2 separate regions of the Homo sapiens genome follow, and region 1 is linked to region 2. The links are contacts of gene promoters, found by promoter capture Hi-C in human tissues and cell types (Jung and others, 2019). All regions are on one chromosome and are shown on one strand. The core of a region is centred on a gene start or on the middle of the fragment in contact, and the rest is flanking DNA. Distances in the headings are between cores, read along the strand shown. Region 1 overlaps PARPBP (PARP1 binding protein). Region 2 holds the start of PMCH (pro-melanin concentrating hormone).

What was found. The method cuts DNA at HindIII sites, captures the fragments that hold promoters and counts their contacts. A contact is called where the count stands out against the background at its distance.
Region 1: a contact is called between a fragment that was not itself captured here and the fragment with the promoter of PMCH in region 2, in 1 of the 25 tissues and cell types used here (hippocampus).

Annotation. Positions count from the first base shown.
Region 1 is chr12:102,157,867-102,162,954 of GRCh38, reverse strand. The region is part of intron 4 of PARPBP (PARP1 binding protein); the gene reads right to left. Among named protein-coding and RNA genes, the nearest start is that of PMCH, 37 kb to the left of the region's middle. The HindIII fragment of the contact is 4,500 bases long and covers 1-4,430 here.
Region 2 is chr12:102,195,994-102,201,622 of GRCh38, reverse strand. It overlaps PMCH (pro-melanin concentrating hormone), which reads left to right and starts at 3,790. Exons shown (of 3, transcript NM_002674.4): 1 at 3,790-4,101; 2 at 4,452-4,650; 3 at 4,922-5,164. The coding sequence starts at 3,853. The coding sequence ends at 4,971. PARPBP (PARP1 binding protein) reads right to left here. Exons shown (of 11, transcript NM_017915.5): 11 at 4,103-5,629. The coding sequence ends at 5,332. The HindIII fragment of the contact is 16,025 bases long and covers 1-5,629 here.

The DNA of each region.
Region 1 (5,088 bases), core at 931-3,430, 37 kb after region 2:
TAATAGAAAATCTTCATGACCTGGAATAAGGCAAAGAGTTCTTACATAAGACACCAGAAGCACAATGAGAAAAGGAAAAATAAAAAGATAAATTTCATTTCATCAAAATCAAATTCCTTTTTTTTTTTTCTTTTTTTGAGAAACAGGGTCTTGCTGTTAGGCTGGAGTGCAGTGGCACAATCAGGGCACACTGTAACCTCAACCTCCCAGGCTTAAGTGATCCTTCTGCCTCAGCTTCCCCGGTAGCTAGGATTACAGGCATGTGCCACCACAAGCAGCAAAACGTTTTTATTTTTTGTAGAGAAAAGGTCCCACTATGTTGCCCAGGTTGGTGTTGAACTCCTGGGCTCCAGTGATCCTTCTGCCTTGACCTCCAAAAGTGCTGGGAATACAGGTGTGAGCCACCATGAGCAGCGCAAAATTAAATTCCTTGCATGGAATTTTCTTCCTATTTTTGCCTTCTCAACTACTTCGATCCCACCTTCTGCTCTAGAATCCTGTTTCTAATTCTTATTGTTCCCAAACTGTCCACTTGAAATCATATTCTTGCCTATTCCCTCAGATAACAGACTCACGAATTCTAAACTCGATTCCCACTCAAAACACATGAAATTCAAAAATCCTTCAGTAATTTCAGTCACAACTAATATCCCCGGAATTTATCATCTGTAAATGCTAAGAAAATATTTCCCTTATTAAAACTAAAATTTCATCATATTCAATCTAATCACATGTTAAATTTTTGAAGCATAAAAGAAACTAAAAAAGGCAGCAATAAAAAATTACAAATCCTTAGCAAGCCTCTTAGATAGTTGTTAAGCATATACACCTTAAAATAAATTCAAAAGATAATATATTTTGACTGTTTAAGTTCCCATGCAAAAAACAATTATTAAAAAGTAGGAGGCAGGCAGGGTCAATTTAAAAGAAAAACTTCACTGGACAGGAAAGCATTGCCTTAAATATGGACTCGAGATAGAATTTAAGCAAAATTAATTACAAGAAAACAAAGTTTAAAGATTAACCATGAGAAAGATTTTTTCTTGCATATTAAGTAAATGTTACCTTTTCAGAGATGCTCCCTGATTCCCCAGTCTAAAGTAGACATTCATGTATTCTCTTTCCTGCCATCCTGTGATAACTCTGCATATCACCCTATTATAATTCTCTGCATACTTTTCTTTTTAATATTTTTTTAAGGATACAATATTTCACTATGTTGCCCAGCCTAATCTTGAACTCCTGGGCTCAAGTGATCCTCCTGCCTTGACCTCCCAAAGTGCTGGGATTACAGGCATGAGCCACCATGCCTAGCCACTTTCTGATAACGTTTCTTAATCCTCCTATTACTTTGTGAGTTCCATGAGAGCAAATCATCTGTCCTTAGATCCTAACAGAATGACTCGCATTATAGTAGGTAATCAATCTGTTTTTGTCAATAGGTTCTCAATGAGTTTTCATTCAATGATGAATGAAAGAAAAATTAATACATAAATTTGACTCTTTAAAAATTTCAAAATTAAAAATCTATTAAGAAAAACTTACCTGAGGCTGGGTGTGGTGGCTCACACCTGTAATCCCACCACTAGGAGGCCAAGGCAGGTGGGTCACTTGAGACCAAGAGTTCAAGACCAGCCTGGCCAACACAGCGAAACCCTGTCTCTACTAAAAATACAAAAAAATTAGCTGGACGTGGTGGCACACACCTGTAATCCCAGCTACTCGGGAGGCTGTGGCACAAGAATCACTTGAACCTGGGAGGTGTAGATTGCAGTGAGCCAAGATAATGCTACTGCACTCCAGCCTGAGCGACAGAATGAGACTGTCTCCAAAGAAAAAAAAACTTACCTGGGATAAAATAAATGCCATATTTTTTATTATGGTGCCTTACAAAGAAAGGTATTCTAAGTCACAACCAAATAAAAATAAGCTTTAAGGCTTCTCCTAAAATTTTATAAAATAATGTATAATATAGTTTTCTGATTATATATATATTTTTTTTTTTTGAGATGATGTTTCCCTCTTGTTGCCCAGGCTGGAGTGCAATGACACGATCTCGGCTCACCACAACCTCAGCCTCCCAAGTTCAAGTGATTCTCCTGCCTCAGCCTCCCAAGTAGCTGAGATTACAGGCATGTGCCGCCACGCCTGGCTAATTTTGTATTTTTAGTAGAGACGGGATTTCTCCATGTTGGTCAGGCTGGTGTCAAACTCCTAACCTCAGGTGATCTGCCTGCCTCAGCCTCCCAAAGTGCTGGGATTACAGGCGTTAACCACCATGCCCAGCCTCTGCTCATATTTCAAATGTCCTTTTATCTTTACTTTCACAGTAAATCACAATACTTCTATTACACAAGTCTATAATATGAGTTTCCATTTTAACTTCACAGTGCAATAGTCTAAGACACAATTCTTTGTATTCCTTTGACATCTGAGAAGAATAACACAATTTACCGAAAATCAAAGCAGAGAAAAAGTGACATTCACATTGTAATCAGAAACTTTTCCTACATTTAACTTAATGCAATCTCTATGTCACTGTGCTTCTGCTGTTCAAAAATAACAAGAACTTAACAAATATGTATATACCTGATCCTAATTGGGTACAAAACCAGGGCTTAAGCTCTCACATCTACAACTTGCTCTTTAAGGTTAGCAAATTTTGTCCTTCTGATCTGTGATGTTGGGCAAACTTCAGGGAAAAACATCTTGGAGTCCTCACAGTTAGAGTGTTTCTTTTAGCTCATGGCTGCAATTGGAAATCTATCCCTCTTATTATGGTCAGATAACATGGCTGTTATGGTTTCCTTGCTCTTGTATTTACAAGTGAGTTTTAAAGAGGTTCCCTGGAAAAGCAGTCCACATAAGTATAGTTATGATGTCCAAGAGCAAGGGCCTAAATTGAAAACATCCACAAGATTGAAGCCTTTACCAAAACACCAAAAATAAGGATACTGTTCTGTTTATTTGTTTAATAAACTGATTATATCCATACCACAAAGTATTTGCAATGTTTGTTTAGAAGCTGGACAATTTTATTTAAGCTTTCTGATAATTCCAAGTTTCTTTTCCTATCTCTTCTTACTGAGAGGCAGATATTCAACCTCAGTTTGAAGAAAGTCAGTTTTTCTAAGCTGAGAAGATTAACAATTTATACAGGGTCTTTTTTTAACTTTTGTTTGCCAATGCATAAATGCTTATATATACTGACAAAAAAAAAGTTGGACAAAAACTAAGATACTTAGTAGATTTTTTTTTTTAACTGATGATTTTCTTTTTCTGGCCTTTATTCTATTATTCCCTTCATTACTTCAGAATTTTAAAAGCAATGGTTTAGTACCTTAGGAAAAATAAAATGAAGTAAAATAAAATAAGGAAACAAAAATATTGTTTCTCAAATTCAATCCATTCACCTACTTGAAGACTGGTGTCATATTAGTAAACACATTTGATGGTCAAAATATTTCTCTGCAAGACTGAAGCCCAAAAATTCACATTAGGATTTTAATTAGAGCTACATTGACTTCCAGCTGGGTGCGGTGGCTCACGCCTGTAATTCCAGCACTTTGGGAGGCCGAGGTGGGTGGATCACGAGATCAGGAGTTCAAGACCAGCCTGGCCAACATGGTGAAACCCTGTCTCTACTAAAAATACAAAATTAGCCAGGCGTGGTGGCACGGCCTGTAATCCCAGCTGCTCAGGAGGCTAAGGCAGGAGAATTGCTTGAACCCAGGAGGCGGAGGTTGCAGTGAGCTGAGATCACACCACTGCACTCCAGCCTGGGTGACAGAGTGAAACTCCGTCTCAGAGGGGAAAAAAGAAATACACTGACTTCCAAAAAGACCTTGTAAAAAGAAAAATTAGAAACTGCAAGTAACAGAAGCATGGTTAGGAAGATGGCTGCCAATTTAATACTCCTCAGAAAATCAAATCCATTAGTTGAACTAGTAGGTAAAATTCTATTAGAAAATATAATCCAAGAAAGCAAAAGTTAGAAATTAGAGAATTAACACAATGAAACTATCAGTGTTGTTTAAATCAGGAAACTACATGCTTATAATCTTTAGTCACAGATACTCCTTTAAACTTTATAAGCCGAAGTTCTAAAAGCTTAATTCTTTTCACATATACAAATTGGTTCATTCCTCTTTAAAAATACAAATATAACAATTATAATTTCCTCCCTGTAGTACATACAGGATAGATAAAAGAGATCTTTAAGTAATCTACCCTTTTGATACACAAATACACTGCTTAAGCGCCACCGAGAAAAGATCAGGCAATTTGGCAATCACTTTGTCAAGATTTGGAGCATCAAGGGAAAAGAAAGGAAATGTAAGTGAAAAATTAATTTCAAGCAAGAGAAAATAGTTACAAATCTCTAAAAGGAACCAGGTCTGGGCAGGAAACATTCAAGGTGGGCTTGGGATATTTTCTTGTACCAGAAAAGAGGAAAATGCTTGAAAAGTCTACTAGAGCATGTAAAAAAGACACAAAAACCTGCTTGAAGCAGCTTCCTCTATTTTAGCATCAAAGATTAATGAGTGTAACTCATTTTAAAACAGTGAATAAATATAAATTCATGAATCCAAACAATAGACACACAAAAAGGAGAGCAATAAAAGAATAAATATCTAATTTGCTTATATTATATATAACTATTACACTAACCCCTAAATTGGTAGAGAATTGAGGAGTTACCCTGAGATTTTTAGAGAAGGGTACTTCATCTCATTTGATAAGATAAAGCTTTATTGAGAAATGGCAAGTAATTAATGTAAAGACATAACAGAATTAGAAGCTCACTATTCTTTTTTTTTTTTTTTTTTTTTTTGAGATGGAGTCTCGCACTCCCTCCCAGGCTGGAGTGCAGTGGCACCATCTCGGCTCACTGCAAGCTCCCGCCTCCCAGGTTCACGCCATTCTCCTGCCTCAGCCTCCAGAGTAGCTGGGACTACAGGCGCCCACCATTACACCTGGCTACTTTTTTGTATTTTTAGTAGAGACGAGGGTTCACCGTGTTAGCCAGGATGGTCTCGATCTCCTGACCTTGTGATCCACTCGCCTCAGCCTCCCAAAGTGCTGGGA
Region 2 (5,629 bases), core at 2,541-5,040:
AATTTTGAGTGAAGATCAGCCAAGCCAATTCATCCAGTGGAAATTTAAAACAAAGTACATAATTATTAATATTTATTACCCTCCCACAACAGCATCTAAGAAAAAAGATTTCCATTAACAAGGACTTTTTTTTTTTTTTTTTTTTTTTTTTCCAGACAGAGTCTCGCTCTGTCGCCTGGGCTGGAGTGCAATGGCACCATGTTTGGTTCACTGCAACCTCCGTCTCCTGGGTTCAAGCAATTCTCCTGCCTCAGCCTCTCCAGTAGCTGGAATTACAGGCACCCACCACCATGCCCAGCTAATTTTTATATTTTTAGTAGAGATGGGGTTTCACCATGTTGGCCAGGCTGGTCACAAACTCCTGACCTCAGGTGATCCACCCACCTCGGCCTCCCATGGTGCTGGGGTTACAGGCGTGAGCCACCGTGCCCAGCCTAACAAGGACTTTTATAGATTAAACAGGCACATCCAAACCAGGTTCAAACCAAGGGAAACAAAGTAGGGCACAACTAACAACATTAAAAAGATAAGGAAGCTCTAAGATCAAAGAAGTCAAGGGATGTCAGAGTCCTTTGTTTATAATTATAATCACAAAACATTTACTGAGAAAGATCTTAATAGTCCCCGAGAAAATCAGCAGTTAAGTCTACCTCAGATAAAAAGTACTTAAGTGAAATGGACAAATTATACAATAATGTAAATTCCTAAAACAAACTAAAAAAGAAACAGAGAAGCTAAATGTTACTACAGCTACTGAAGAAAGTACATCAATTCTTAACAACAAAAATCCTACCAAGAAAACACCAAACCCAAAGTCTAACAAGAGAGAAAAGAAAGAAGGATAAATCTTGCCCTCAATGTAAGAAATTGGTACAAACTTAATATCAAACCAAAGTCAATATAAAAAAGGAAAATTACAAATCAATCTTACTCATAATAAATGTAAAATGTACTAAATCAAATATTGCCAAATTGAATCCGATAATTTAAAGGTTTCTTCATGAACACATGGTTAGTTTAACATTAGAAAAATCTGTTAATATTTCCAAAGACTGAAGGAGAAAATGATCTGGTCATCTCAATATATGCAAAAAAAGCATTCAATAATATTCAACAACAATTCATGATAAAAACTATTAGTAAGCCAGAAACAAAAGAGAACATCCTGTACTTTATAGCAAGTATCTATAAGAAACCTACAGCAAACATTACGCTCAGTGGTGAAGCATTAAAATCATTATCTGTAAAATCAGTAACACTGTAAAGATATCTCTTCTCTCCATTTTCAGTATTTACTGGAGGCTTTGGCCAGTGTGTATGAACACATGAACAGACACAAAGACATGTATACACAATATAGATGAAGTTAGGAGAAAGAGATAAAATGCCATTATTTTATCATTTATATCAATTGTCTTCATACAAAATCCCAAAGAATCTATACATTTATAAACAATTAAAAAGAAAAAAAAATAAGAGTTTAGAAAGTTTTTTTCTGTTATCAAATTACTATGCACAAGCCAAATGCACATGCACATACCAGCAATAATGTTAGAAAGATCATTTCAAAATACAATTTATAATAACCAAAAATAAGAAATTCAATTAAATTATAAAGAATTATAATTCTCTCAACAAAGGTATGCAAGACCTTTATGAAGAAAAGAAAATGTCATTAAAAGATTAAAGAAGAAAAAAAGATTAAAGAAGATCTAAGCAAATACAGAAAAATGTCATGCTCATAGATAATAAATTACCTTCAGGATATCAGTTCTTCTCCAAAATTAATCTATAAATCTATAAAACCAATGTGATTATAAGTTGAGCATCCCAAATCTGAAAAGCCAAAATCCAAAAATGCTCCAAAATCTGAAACTTGTTAAGCATTAACAATATGCTAAAAAATATATATTCATTGAAGCATTTCAGATTTCAGATTTTGGGATACTTAACTGATATAATGCAAATGTTCCAAATTCTGAAAAAAATATCCCAAATCCAAAAATACTTCTGGTCCTAAGCATTTCAGATAAGGGATACCTAACTAGAACCTTAATATCCTGTCAAGTGTTCTTACGGAACTTGAAAAGCTGATTTTAAGATTTATATGGAAAAGAAATGACTAAGAATAGCTAAGGAACTGCTGTAAAAGAAAAACATGTGGGTAAGTAGAGGGCTGGGAAATTTGACCAGATATTAAAAATTATTTTAAAGTTATATTAATACTGTAGATTTGGCTGTGGAATAGAACGTTCTGAAAGGAGCCCACACATATATAGAAATCTGATATACTGTAGAGATGGCACTGCAGATTAGTGGGGACAGGATGACTTCTTCAAGAAATATATAAGGACATTGGAAAAAGTAAAATTACATCTCTATCTTATATCATACACAAAATTACAGATGAATTACAAACCTAAACATGAAAGTCAAAATATTTAAACTTTTAGAAGAAAATATATGAAAACACGTTAATAATCTAAGGATTGAGAAGGATTTCTAAAAAAAAACAACACATTAAAAGTAGTTGCCATAAAGAAAAAAGAAAAATATTTAAACATTAAAATTAATCAGTTTGGTTCACCAAAAGACACCAGAGGGGTTGAAAATATGTCACAAACTGAGCGAAAATAATTGAAACATATATAACTAACAATTAATATCCAGAATATATAAAGAACTCCCATAAATAAATTAGAAAAAGACAACCCAATAGAAAAATGGACAAAGCCAAAAAAGAAAAAAAAAAAAAGCATTTAACATAAGAGGAAACATAAATGGCTCAGAAACATATGGGAAGACACTTAACCTCTTTGGTAATTAGGAAAATACAAATTAAAAGGACAATGAGACACAAGAGTCAGCTAGGACATGGAACAATGGAAATTCTCATACCCTGCTTATCGAGGGCACAAATCGCTTACAACTATGTTGGAAAACATTTTGGCATTAGTAAAGCTGAACATATACATACTCCATGATCCAGTAATTCCATACTGAGAAATATACTCTAGAAAAATTCTTACATATATGTACCAGAAGACATATAAAAGAATGTATTATCTTATTCATTGGGGTCAAAATTAGAAATTAACTCTGAAATGTTTAATTAAAAGTCATACAACATAAACTCATCATCCAAAAGTAATGTTTATGGGCACATAAATATTCTTTTCATGGACTAATTCATTAATTTCTAAATTCATTAATAAATATTTGTACATATTATCCTTTTGTAAATGCAGAGATAAAATACACCTGACAGGTCAATTTTTGATATAGCATGAATGGCTTTTTGTTCACACTGACAGGCATATGTACTTTAATCACCAAAAACTATATCAAGTATTTATAAAAGAAAGTCTCTTTTGAGGATTATTTCAGTTTAATCAGGATTAAAAGGAAATAAAACTTTATCCTTATCATCCTTGAGTGAAATAACTTGAGTTTTAATATCTTTACTTAATCAGAAAATACACAAAAGGAAACAATAATATAGAGAGAGCCTGATGTCCTGTGGTCTTCCTTAATAACAACCCATTTTCAAGAGACTATAATCTACTCAACAGAAAGCATTCTACCAAGGATCTTAGTCAGATTCTGAGAAAATTCACACTCAAAATAAACAATGTGTCACTAAAACCAAAACAATGTAGGTATTAGCAGCTGCATAAAGGTTAGCCTCAATCTAATGAGTCATTTCTAAAATGATGAAAAGTATAATTCTTTGAAGTGCTTTCTATTCAAGCTAGAAAATATATAAAGATACAGAATCGTTTACCAAGCAGGCTGACAGAGAAATTTTTCATTTTCTTTCTTGTTTGACTGTATGCAAACATCAAACTAAGAATGGCAAAAATGAATCTCTCTTCCTATATATTAATACTAACTTTTTCTTTGTTTTCTCAAGGTATTTTACTTTCAGCATCCAAGTCCATAAGAAATTTAGATGATGACATGGTATTTAATACATTCAGGTTGGGGAAAGGCTTTCAGAAGGAAGACACTGCAGAAAAATCAGTTATTGCTCCTTCCCTGGAACAATATAAAAATGATGAGAGCAGTTTCATGAACGAAGAGGAAAATAAAGTTTCAAAGGTAAGTGGCAATGTGACTTGTCGTTTATTTCAATGAAAATTTAAATGATTCTTACAAATCCTCTGAAAAGTAAAACTGATACTTTTATAAACAGAAGTATATGCAAACAGTCACAATATGCATTAGGACGACTGACGATATTTCTTACATGCCAGGTAGTTCTTCCATCCCAGCAAACACCTCTTATCTGAAAGTGTTTTTTCTCCTATAAATTTGCATCTAAGGTATTTTTAAAAAGTCAAAAACAGTGCAGAGTAACTTTGAATTGATCAACAAGAATATTATACAATTGTATTATAGTTCCACTCCGAATACGATAGCTAAAAACCAAATCAACCTTCTCTTTACAGAACACAGGCTCCAAACATAATTTCTTAAATCATGGTCTGCCACTGAATCTGGCTATAAAACCTTATCTTGCACTAAAAGGATCTGTAGCTTTCCCAGCTGAGAATGGAGTTCAGAATACTGAATCAACACAAGAAAAGAGAGAAATTGGGGATGAAGAAAACTCAGCTAAATTTCCTATAGGAAGGAGAGATTTTGACAGTGAGTAGTCTTTTCAAAATTCAATTCTTACATCCTACCACCATTAAACAGAACTCTGAGTTAAAGTGAATTTGGATGCAATCATAACAAAATCAAATAAGACCATGGCTCAATTACACCTGCCAAAAATGTGGGATTAAATAGCAACAATTAATTATTATCATTTTGGTTTACTCAGAATTAGTTATACTAGATCCATTCTTTTTTTCTTAATAAATTTTGTGTGATAATTATAGTCCTTTAAACAATTTAAACTTTCTTCTTCCTTCAGTGCTCAGATGTATGCTGGGAAGAGTCTACCGACCTTGTTGGCAAGTCTGATACCTGTTGGTCCACATCATCTTTTCAGAAGAAAATAAAAGCATTTAATTGCCAATGGGAGGAGAAGCCCATACTGCTACTATAACTTGTGTATGTTAAATGTCTGTTTTAAAAGAAAGTAGTGTTAAGATGTATCAGTAACTGAAATGATATGCTTTCTCTGTGCATTAAACTTTGTGAAAATTCTGCATAATTATGACTTACTAGTATTTTTAAACAATGCTTAACATACTAACCTTACATACACTGTAGACCAAAATAATAAATCATCATAATTTACACCTTGATCTCTTAAAAATTAAGCATGTCTTTGGTGAATGGTTTATAGATACATAAACCTAAAGCATATAAGACACAAATTTATAGTCTAAAAAACTGAGTTAACTTTGCCTGGCCAGAAATCAACTTGTCCTTGGCAGTACATTTATTACTTTTTGCTACTTTAGCTAGTTTGCCGTACAATCTATTCTGTGAATCATTTGATTTCTTAGGTATTTTAGCATTTTTATGTTGAGGTGGTTCATTTCTATTATCACAGAGAATATTTTCACCATCCAAATCCACCTGTTTCCTTTTTGAGCTTTTATTTCCTGTCTGACTGGTTGATTTTCTTGATACTTTTTCATTTTTACTTCTGTCCAGATGAACATTTCCAAAA